Regions from separate parts of the Homo sapiens genome. Here region 1 is linked to region 2. The links are contacts of gene promoters, found by promoter capture Hi-C in human tissues and cell types (Jung and others, 2019). All regions are on one chromosome and are shown on one strand. Each heading gives the region's core, a stretch centred on a gene start or on the middle of the fragment in contact. The rest is flanking DNA. Distances are from core to core; before and after follow the strand shown. Region 1 overlaps STK32B (serine/threonine kinase 32B). Region 2 holds the start of EVC2 (EvC ciliary complex subunit 2).

Region 1 (3,894 bases), core at 976-3,475, 310 kb after region 2:
TACTGACCTCCGGCATGCTTCAGAATCCAATGTACATGTCCCTTCCTCCAGGAAGCCCTCCTGCACTACTCTCCTGGCCTCAGCCACCTTCTGCTGCCCCACAGCCCCATGCTTGCTCTGTCCTGGCCTTGACCCCAACGGGTCATCATCAATTGTTTACATTTCCACTCCTCCCACAGCCTTGGCTGCAGATTAGATCCACCTGGGAACTGTAAAAGATCCCACTACTCAGCACTCTGTCCTGTAAGAGGAATCAAATGAGAGCTTCTCAAGGTGGGGTCTTAGGACCCAGGTGATGTGCCACCAGGACAGAGAACAGTCACCCCAGACCATGAGTTCCTCGGCCACAGGGACTCTGCCTTCTGTGGTCACTGGACACAATGCCTGGCCATGGCAGGTGTGCAACAAGCGAACCACTTCCCAAAGAGGACGAAGACTACATTCTTTATGGTCATCATAAATGACCTTTGAACCAGGGCCCTCAGTGGCACTTAAGTGCAAAATACAGCCTCTTTCCTTCTGTCTCTCACTCTTCTCTCCTTGCCCACCTTTGGGGAAGTCCACCTCCCATGTGGAAAGCACTAACCCACCGGCCTGTGCCTGTGGCTCCATCCATTCCATTTCCACTGGCCTCTTCCATCACCCTCCTGTTAGGCAACTGCATTAATGGCCTCAATTGTTCACCCCTCTCTGGATCACCCCATTGCCATGTGCCTTTGCAATGTCTAGTCTCTCTGACTCTAGGTTTGGCCAAGTGACTCGCTTTGTCTCCTGCATTGGTGGCAAACACGACACAGGTGGAGGCTTGAGTGGCTGGGCTCTCCTGCTCTTGCTCCTGCTATGGCCATGAGCAGACCATGCAGATGAACTTGCAGGGGATAAGCTCAAGGAGCAGGGCTGAGTCACCCGGCCAGCCAGCCAAGGCCAGAGGGGATCGGCTGACAGCCAGTTGAGCCTCAGACATTGGAGTGGGTTTAGCCAACATCAACAGTCCTGCCTACCCAACCTTGGTCTTAGGAGCAAGCCCAGCCAAGATCAGCCAAGCCCAGCCTAGAGTCCCTCAACCCCAGGATGCTGTGAGCTAACGGGATGTTTTTTGTTTATGCGATTTAAGTTATGTGGTTCATTACCCAGCTTTATTGTACCAATAGAAAATCAATACAATTGCTTCCCCCCTCCCTCTATGTCTTTAAATTCCCCATTGTCTTGATCTTATGATCCTCAGCCTAAAATGCACTCAGCTCTTTTCCCTGCCTTGTTCTGAGATGCTGTATCTTCTTTCACTCTATTTTACCTCAATGCGTGGTATCTCTCTGCTTTTGCAGCTGGCTCAGAGACCTCAAATCTCAGAGCAGAATGAAAGTGTCCATTCCAAGACATAAAACCCTGAAAGATCAGAAAGTAAGGCAGACACTAGGGGAGCAGAGAAGCTTGTGAGAGATGCTTGGATTTTGTGTAACTAGCAGATTTTGGACATCATTAATAAAATATTAATGCATTTGTTTAATTATGTTTATATTTCATTTGAAACACAACTGACCAACTTGTTCTCTGAGAAAGTATTCAATGCAACCAATGATGGAACTCTTGAAATAGCAATACACAGTTATTGGTTTGTAAAAGGTTTTGTCATGCAGTTTACAAAAGGTGCAAGTAGATGCCAGCACGAATGGGGTGCCCTTAGGACTCATTTAGGAACACATACTGTCCTGCTCATCTTATGGCTAGGTCATGTTTCACAGTGAAGGTTTTGAAGGCATAAGATTAATTTTAAATGTTATAAACCTACAAAATAAACTGCTGTTGTATTCCTCAAACAGCCATTCCCCTCTTGTTTCTGCAGTTCTGCCCCACTGTCTCTACCACCTGTCCATCCAGGCACCTTCCTCTGTTTGGCCTTGTCATGCCTTCAGGATCCCACTGTCATGCGGCTGCCTCTAAGACAACCCCGCACACACCTTTCCCTCTCCCCTCTGCCCGACCTCTCCTGAGCTTCCCCACACTCTCCCCAACACCATGAAACCCATCAGCGTTGGGACCCTGTTTGCCTTGTTCATCATTCTGTTAACCAGAACTTGGCACACAGCAGGTGCTCAAGAGATGTTTACTGAGGGAAAGACAAAGGCAAGAATGGCCAGCTTCAGGCTCTGCTCAAAAAGCCGATCAGCTCCCCTCAGAAGAGCAGGTAAAGGAGGGCCATGGGCATAGAATTCTCTCTTTCTCTTCTCTCCCCAGAAAGGAGACTCTTCTTTTTCTGAGCGGAATTCCCTGCTCCTAAATTTCTTTTCTGTACCACCTGCAAAGCCACTCATTGAGTGTTGGAGTGGGGAAGGGTTATCAGCCATTCACCTCACAGTATGAAATATTATATTCAACGCTCTGTCCCACCAGCTAGCAGAGACTTTTCGATGAAATGGGAGGCTGGAGAGGGAGAAGACTGGATGCAGGGGCACTTGGGGAGTGTGTGGGGTGCTGCATAGCCAGAAGGCAGGGCTGGGACACTGTGAAGGCCAAGCAGGGGGTGGAAAAAGATGAGGAGCTCAAGGGGGCAGAACGAGATGCAGAAAGAATGTGGGGAAGGCTGAGGTGGAGGCTGAGAATGGGTACAGAAAGGGAGGCGGAATGGGATGGATGGAAATCCAAAAGGCAGGAAAGAGAAAACCTAGGGGAGGCTGCCTGGGAGCAGCCCGCCTGCCTATATCTTTTGTGCAGCAGCTTCAGGGGAGCTGTGGCCAAGGTCTGTGAGGATGGAGCCAGAACTATGAAGCCAGGCAGTCCTGGGTTACCCCCATACTCTCTGTGTCACTTTTCCTCATCAGTGCAATGGCTAGCTTATTGCTATTGATGTTTCTGTCTGAATTTTGCTTCTGGACCGCTTTGCAGGGCCAGGAAGTCTCCCCCTAGCGGTCTCTCTTAATAGGACAGAGCCTTGAGGATGCTGCCTGGAACCCAGCCTTCCAGACCCCTGCTTTCCAGACAGCTAAGCAGAACCAGCCTCTGTGTTTTCTCACCTCTTTACCCTGCTTCTGTGATTTGACCTTGCCTGGCCCTGAGCAGAGAAAGGGGACAGGAAGAGGGCGAGTTATCTACCCCTTCCCGAGCGCTTGCATACTGTGATGGGTGGCTGACCTTCGAGTCTCACCCGAGATGAGACATTCACCACCCTGCAAGGTGGGTCAATTACTTCTGCATCGCTGCTGGGAAGGCTGAGACACGGAGGTACAGCCACTGGCCCAAGGACATTCAGCTGGCTGGGGGCTCAGCTGAGTGCCACATCTGAAGATCCTGACTTTTAGATACAAACTGGAGACGTTGCTTTCGCTTCCTTTCCAGCCTTGATTTGGATCCTCAGCTCTGTCCATGCCCCAGGCATCTTGGGGCTGCTGCTGACCTTCCATTCAGGAGCACAGTGAGTTCAATCCTACTGCCCCCAAAGCACTTAGTCTGGTTCCAGCATCTGATGCAGAGATGCAAATGGTCCCATCCACCACTCCTGTACATAGGGATGCACACTATGAGGTTAGGATGCCCCAAGCTATGCTGCTGGCTCATGGAAGGTTCGAGAGGAGCTCTGAGATAGAACCATGACCTCAGCCTGCAGAGGTGGGGAAGGAGGGTGGGGGAGCTGCGTAGAAAATGTGACTCATTCATCCCTGAAGGCCTCAGCAGGGATGAGAATCCCTACTTCAGAAGAATTCGCACCTGCTCCCTCCAGCCAACCCCATGTTAGGCCCTGAGAGACGGGCCCCTGAAGCAATGCCAGTGAATTTAGTTTTGAAGGCTGTAAGTCTCCTGTTGGCATCAGCCACAATTGATTGTCAAGTCCACTGAGCATTCTTGATCTGAGCCCTAGGCTCATGGTTCTTAAACTTTGTGGGCATTCCATCCCAACAC
Region 2 (3,910 bases), core at 543-3,042:
AAAGCACACATGCACATGCACGACTGCACACTTGCACTCAGGGGCACACACACACACACACCTACCCTGTGGAGCTTAATTCCCTGTGTGGGCCGGGCTAGGGGACACCATGGGGATCTGCTTCAGCAGAGGAGGGCTTTGTCCTTTCAGCCTAGATGTCCAGCTTGTTTCTAGTTTGTTTCATCATTTCCTCATGGCAAGATGGGAACTGTTATCCAAATTCTTCATCTTTTTTTAATAAATGAAGAAACTGACAGCTGGAGAGGAGAGGTGACTCATTTGCAATTAAGGAGTGGGGCAGAATTCTTGTCTCATTTACACCTGTGTCTGGCTTCAGGGCAAACTCTCTGCTATGTGGAGCTTCTTATATATTACCTTAGAAGCATCTCCAAGGTTCCTGGGGACATGTATGGGGGCAATAACTTGACGCTCTTGTTTTACATTTCCATGAATGCTTAGGCTTTAGTTTTTAAAATGTGGTGTTTGGGCCAGGTGTGGTTGCTCACGCCTGTAATCCCAGCACTTTGGGAGGCTCAAGTGGAGGATTGTCTGAGCCCAGGAGTTTAAGACCAGTCTTGGCAACATAGTGAGACCCTGACTCCATAAAAAATACTAAGGAGATTTTTTAAATGTAGGGTTATTTGCTTTTTACTTTATCATAAAGTTGTTGACTATTAAATTAACCTTTAAATGACTGACTGTCAAACAACTCCAACGGTCCAGCAACATGCTTGGCATTTAGCCTGTGGTCTTGTCACATGCCTGACAGCTGCCACGTACCCCCTGGTGTGGGGAACTTGGCTTATAAATTCTCAGCTTCTCGAACCCCATGGCCTTGTCCATGTTAGGTCAGGAAAGGCCTGTCCTTGGATGGTCTGGGTTATGGGGAGAGAGGCTGCCAGGGGCCAGGCTCGCTGGCCTGAGACTTTATAGACAGCCTAACAGCCTGCCCCGCAGGAAGGCTGGCGGGAGTGGAGCCCTCCCCCGTCAACAGGTGTCAGCTGTCACCCAGGACCTAGGCAGGGATGAGGAAGCACACAAAAGGCTCCACCAGTCCCCCTTTTTGTGTCTTTCTCCTCCTCCTCCTCCTGCGTCCCTTGGCAAAGCAAATCCCTGTCCCCTCGGAGAGTTCAGGGAGAGCTTGCTTAGGGCTGCGACTTCAGACACCAGCTCCCCTCTTTCTAGGTCCCCAGAGAGGTGGCCCAGCGGCTGGCCTGTTTCCCACTGGGAATGCGAGGGGCACCCGGGCCGGCCCAGGGCTGACCCACAGCAGGCTCGGGCAGTGGGTGCTCAGCTGGTCTGCACTGAACGCAACCGGAAGTGAGGGTCCTTTTCCTTCTCTGCGGCCACCCCCTCCTCCCCGAGCTTTCCTGAACCTTCTGGGTGCTCCAGGACTCCCGGCCCCGCGCTCCAAATGCTTCTCCGTTTTCTAAGCGGGGATGGGGAAACTCTGGATTCACATCCGTGTGTCAGGAAACCGTTCCCAGGGGAAGTGCGTCTGAGCTGAGGCTTACAGACCCAGGTAGGCGGTAGCGGAGGGGCCCTTGGGGTCCTGGTAACCTCGGGGAGCAGGGGAGTGACCCGCTCTGATTCGGTTTGGGCGCAAGCAAACCCAGGCCTGGCCGCCGGGCGCCTGGGCCGCGCCAACTCGCTCTCCCCCTCCCACGCCCGTCCGGCACCTCCTGGCCCGCCAAGCCCCAGATGCGGGTGTTTGTTCCAGAAAACTTTCGGCGGCGGCTCGCACTGAGCATGCTCGGCGGCGGGGCGGGCCTGGGGTCCGGAAGCTCCAGCGACTCGGCGGCACCCGCCGCTTTGAGGTAGCGGGTCCCGACAGGCGATGGACCCCTCGGGCTCCCGGGGGCGCCCCACGTGGGTGCTGGCCGGGGGTCTCCTGGCAGTGGCCCTGGCGCTGGGGGGCCGAGGCTGTCTCGGCGCCAGCTCACGTCCCCGCTGGCGCCCCCTCGGCGCGCAGCCACCCCGGGATCCCCAGGTGGCTCCTAGGTCTGGGCCCGGCCTGAGGATCCCTCCGGGGCGGAGCGGGGCGGGGCCCGAGAGCAGCACGCAGGTAAGGAGGGCCCGACCCCAGGCTCCGGTCTGACTGTAGTGGTTTGACTTTGTCTACACCGGCGGTGGCAGGGAGGACCCTTAGTATTTCGCAAAGAATGAGGAAGGGAGGGCAGGATCTGAATAGGGTGCTTCGCGGCCCTTAGGTGTATCCCGCTCACGGCCAGAAAGCTTCGAGGGAAACTGGAGACCTTCCTCGGGGTGTGGCAGCTGCCGGCTTGGACTTCACCAGCGACCCTGGTTCGAATCCTGCTCTCCATTTTACGAGCTTCGACCTAGGGCAGTTCACTCCTGTGCCCCAGTTTCCTGATCGTTGAAACGGGGCCGTCGCGGCGTCCACCCCAGAGGGTGGAAGTGGGTTAGATGAGCTCACATATGCAGAGCCCCTTGCAGAGGCCAGCACTGGGAAATTGCAGCGGTTTTTAAAAGTGGGGGCTCTTGGCTGGACTCTTAGGTGACTGAACTCTCCTGGCTGATGGATTTAGCCACTTCCTACTTCACCCTGGCCCTCCCTCTGTGGTCCTAAACTCGAAAGGCATGGATCCCTGGCTGTAGCCCTAGACTTGACCTCCCCCGACAAAGCTGGTCACCAGTCCTAGTGCCTTTTCCTCCAAATCAGCTCGGATGTCTGCCCCTCCTCACTCCCCACTGCCACTCCCTGGCTTCAGGTCCCACCACTTCACTTCCAGCCCTTGGTGATGGTTTTCCCACGTCTCCCATCCATTTTCCCCCAGACCTCTGGGGTGGTCTGTCCTGGTAGACATTCTGCCACTCCTGTCCCATGCTGGCACTCTTCTCTCCACCTTATTGCCCCTGACAGCACACCCAGGCTCCTATTCCCAGGACTGCCCTGGCCAATGGTCTGGCCCATTGATGCTGCCCTGAGGTCCTCCCACCTCTCTCCTAGGGTGGTGGGTCGTGTCCTGCTGTGTTCTCTACCCCAGGACACTTGCGACACTGGCAGAGGTTTAGTCTCTTAAAAGAGACCCTGCTCCCTTTCTGTCTTTAGGTTTTCACTGGAAAAACGCCATGTCAGTGTCCTGAGCTTTCAAAAGTCCAATGACAGAACATGTTCCCTGGGTCCTTTCACTTGCATCTGCCCTGTGAGATGGGAGTATCTGGCCCGTTTTGCAGGTGACAAAACCAAGGCTCAGGGAGCCGCGTCCCCAGGCCTGTCCTGTACTCTCTCTCTGGCCCCCGAGTTCAGAGCCTGCGTGCCTGGCCTCACCTGCTTTGCACAAGCTCTTCCTTCTGGGAAGCCAGTGTCAGAAATCCTGGTGCACATTGGCCTCTGTCAGCCACAGTGGTGTTGAGGGTGGTCCCTGCCAGAAGGGAGGGACGGTGCCTACTGGGAAGGGCCTGAAGCCATCTAGGACCATGGTGGGTGTAGAGTACCTCACCCTCAAGGGCAACCCCTGCCTTTGCAGGAATCTGGGAATGAGCACCTGTATTCAGGTGCCCTTGGCATCTTGAGCACGTCCCCTGGGCCCTGGCCCTGCCCACGCCCATCCCAGCTGTTGATGGGACCAGCCTTCTTCCGTCTCTCTGGGCCTGTCTTGCATAGCCCTTCTGCACACTGTACAGGAAAGAGCTCTGGCCATGTGTGTCCCTGCCTTGGCCACTCCCTCTTGTGGGGCCTGGGACAAGTCACAGCCCTCAGGGTCTCTGCTTCCTCTTCTGAGCAATGGTGTAAGGGCTGTTCCCAGAGCACAGTTCCCGAAGGCACAGGTTAGTTCTTCCTATTGTAATTATATGATGCCTTCATGTAATTACTTGATACCATCTATCCATCCATTCATTCAATATTATCTATGTATGTATGTATGTATGTATGTATGTATCTATC

What was found. Contacts are between HindIII fragments. The study calls those that stand out against the background at their distance.
Region 1: a fragment that was not itself captured here is called in contact with the fragment with the promoter of EVC2 in region 2 in 1 of the 25 tissues and cell types used here (dorsolateral prefrontal cortex).

The regions. Positions count from the first base shown.
Region 1 is chr4:5,399,025-5,402,918 of GRCh38, reverse strand. The region is part of intron 5 of STK32B (serine/threonine kinase 32B); the gene reads right to left. Among named protein-coding and RNA genes, the nearest start is that of LINC01587, 120 kb to the left of the region's middle. The HindIII fragment of the contact is 3,188 bases long and covers 632-3,819 here.
Region 2 is chr4:5,706,441-5,710,350 of GRCh38, reverse strand. It overlaps EVC2 (EvC ciliary complex subunit 2), which reads left to right and starts at 1,792. Exons shown (of 22, transcript NM_147127.5): 1 at 1,792-2,065. The coding sequence starts at 1,838. RefSeq lists silencers at 1,703-1,752, 1,793-2,172 and an enhancer at 1,233-1,852. The HindIII fragment of the contact is 11,868 bases long and covers 1-3,910 here.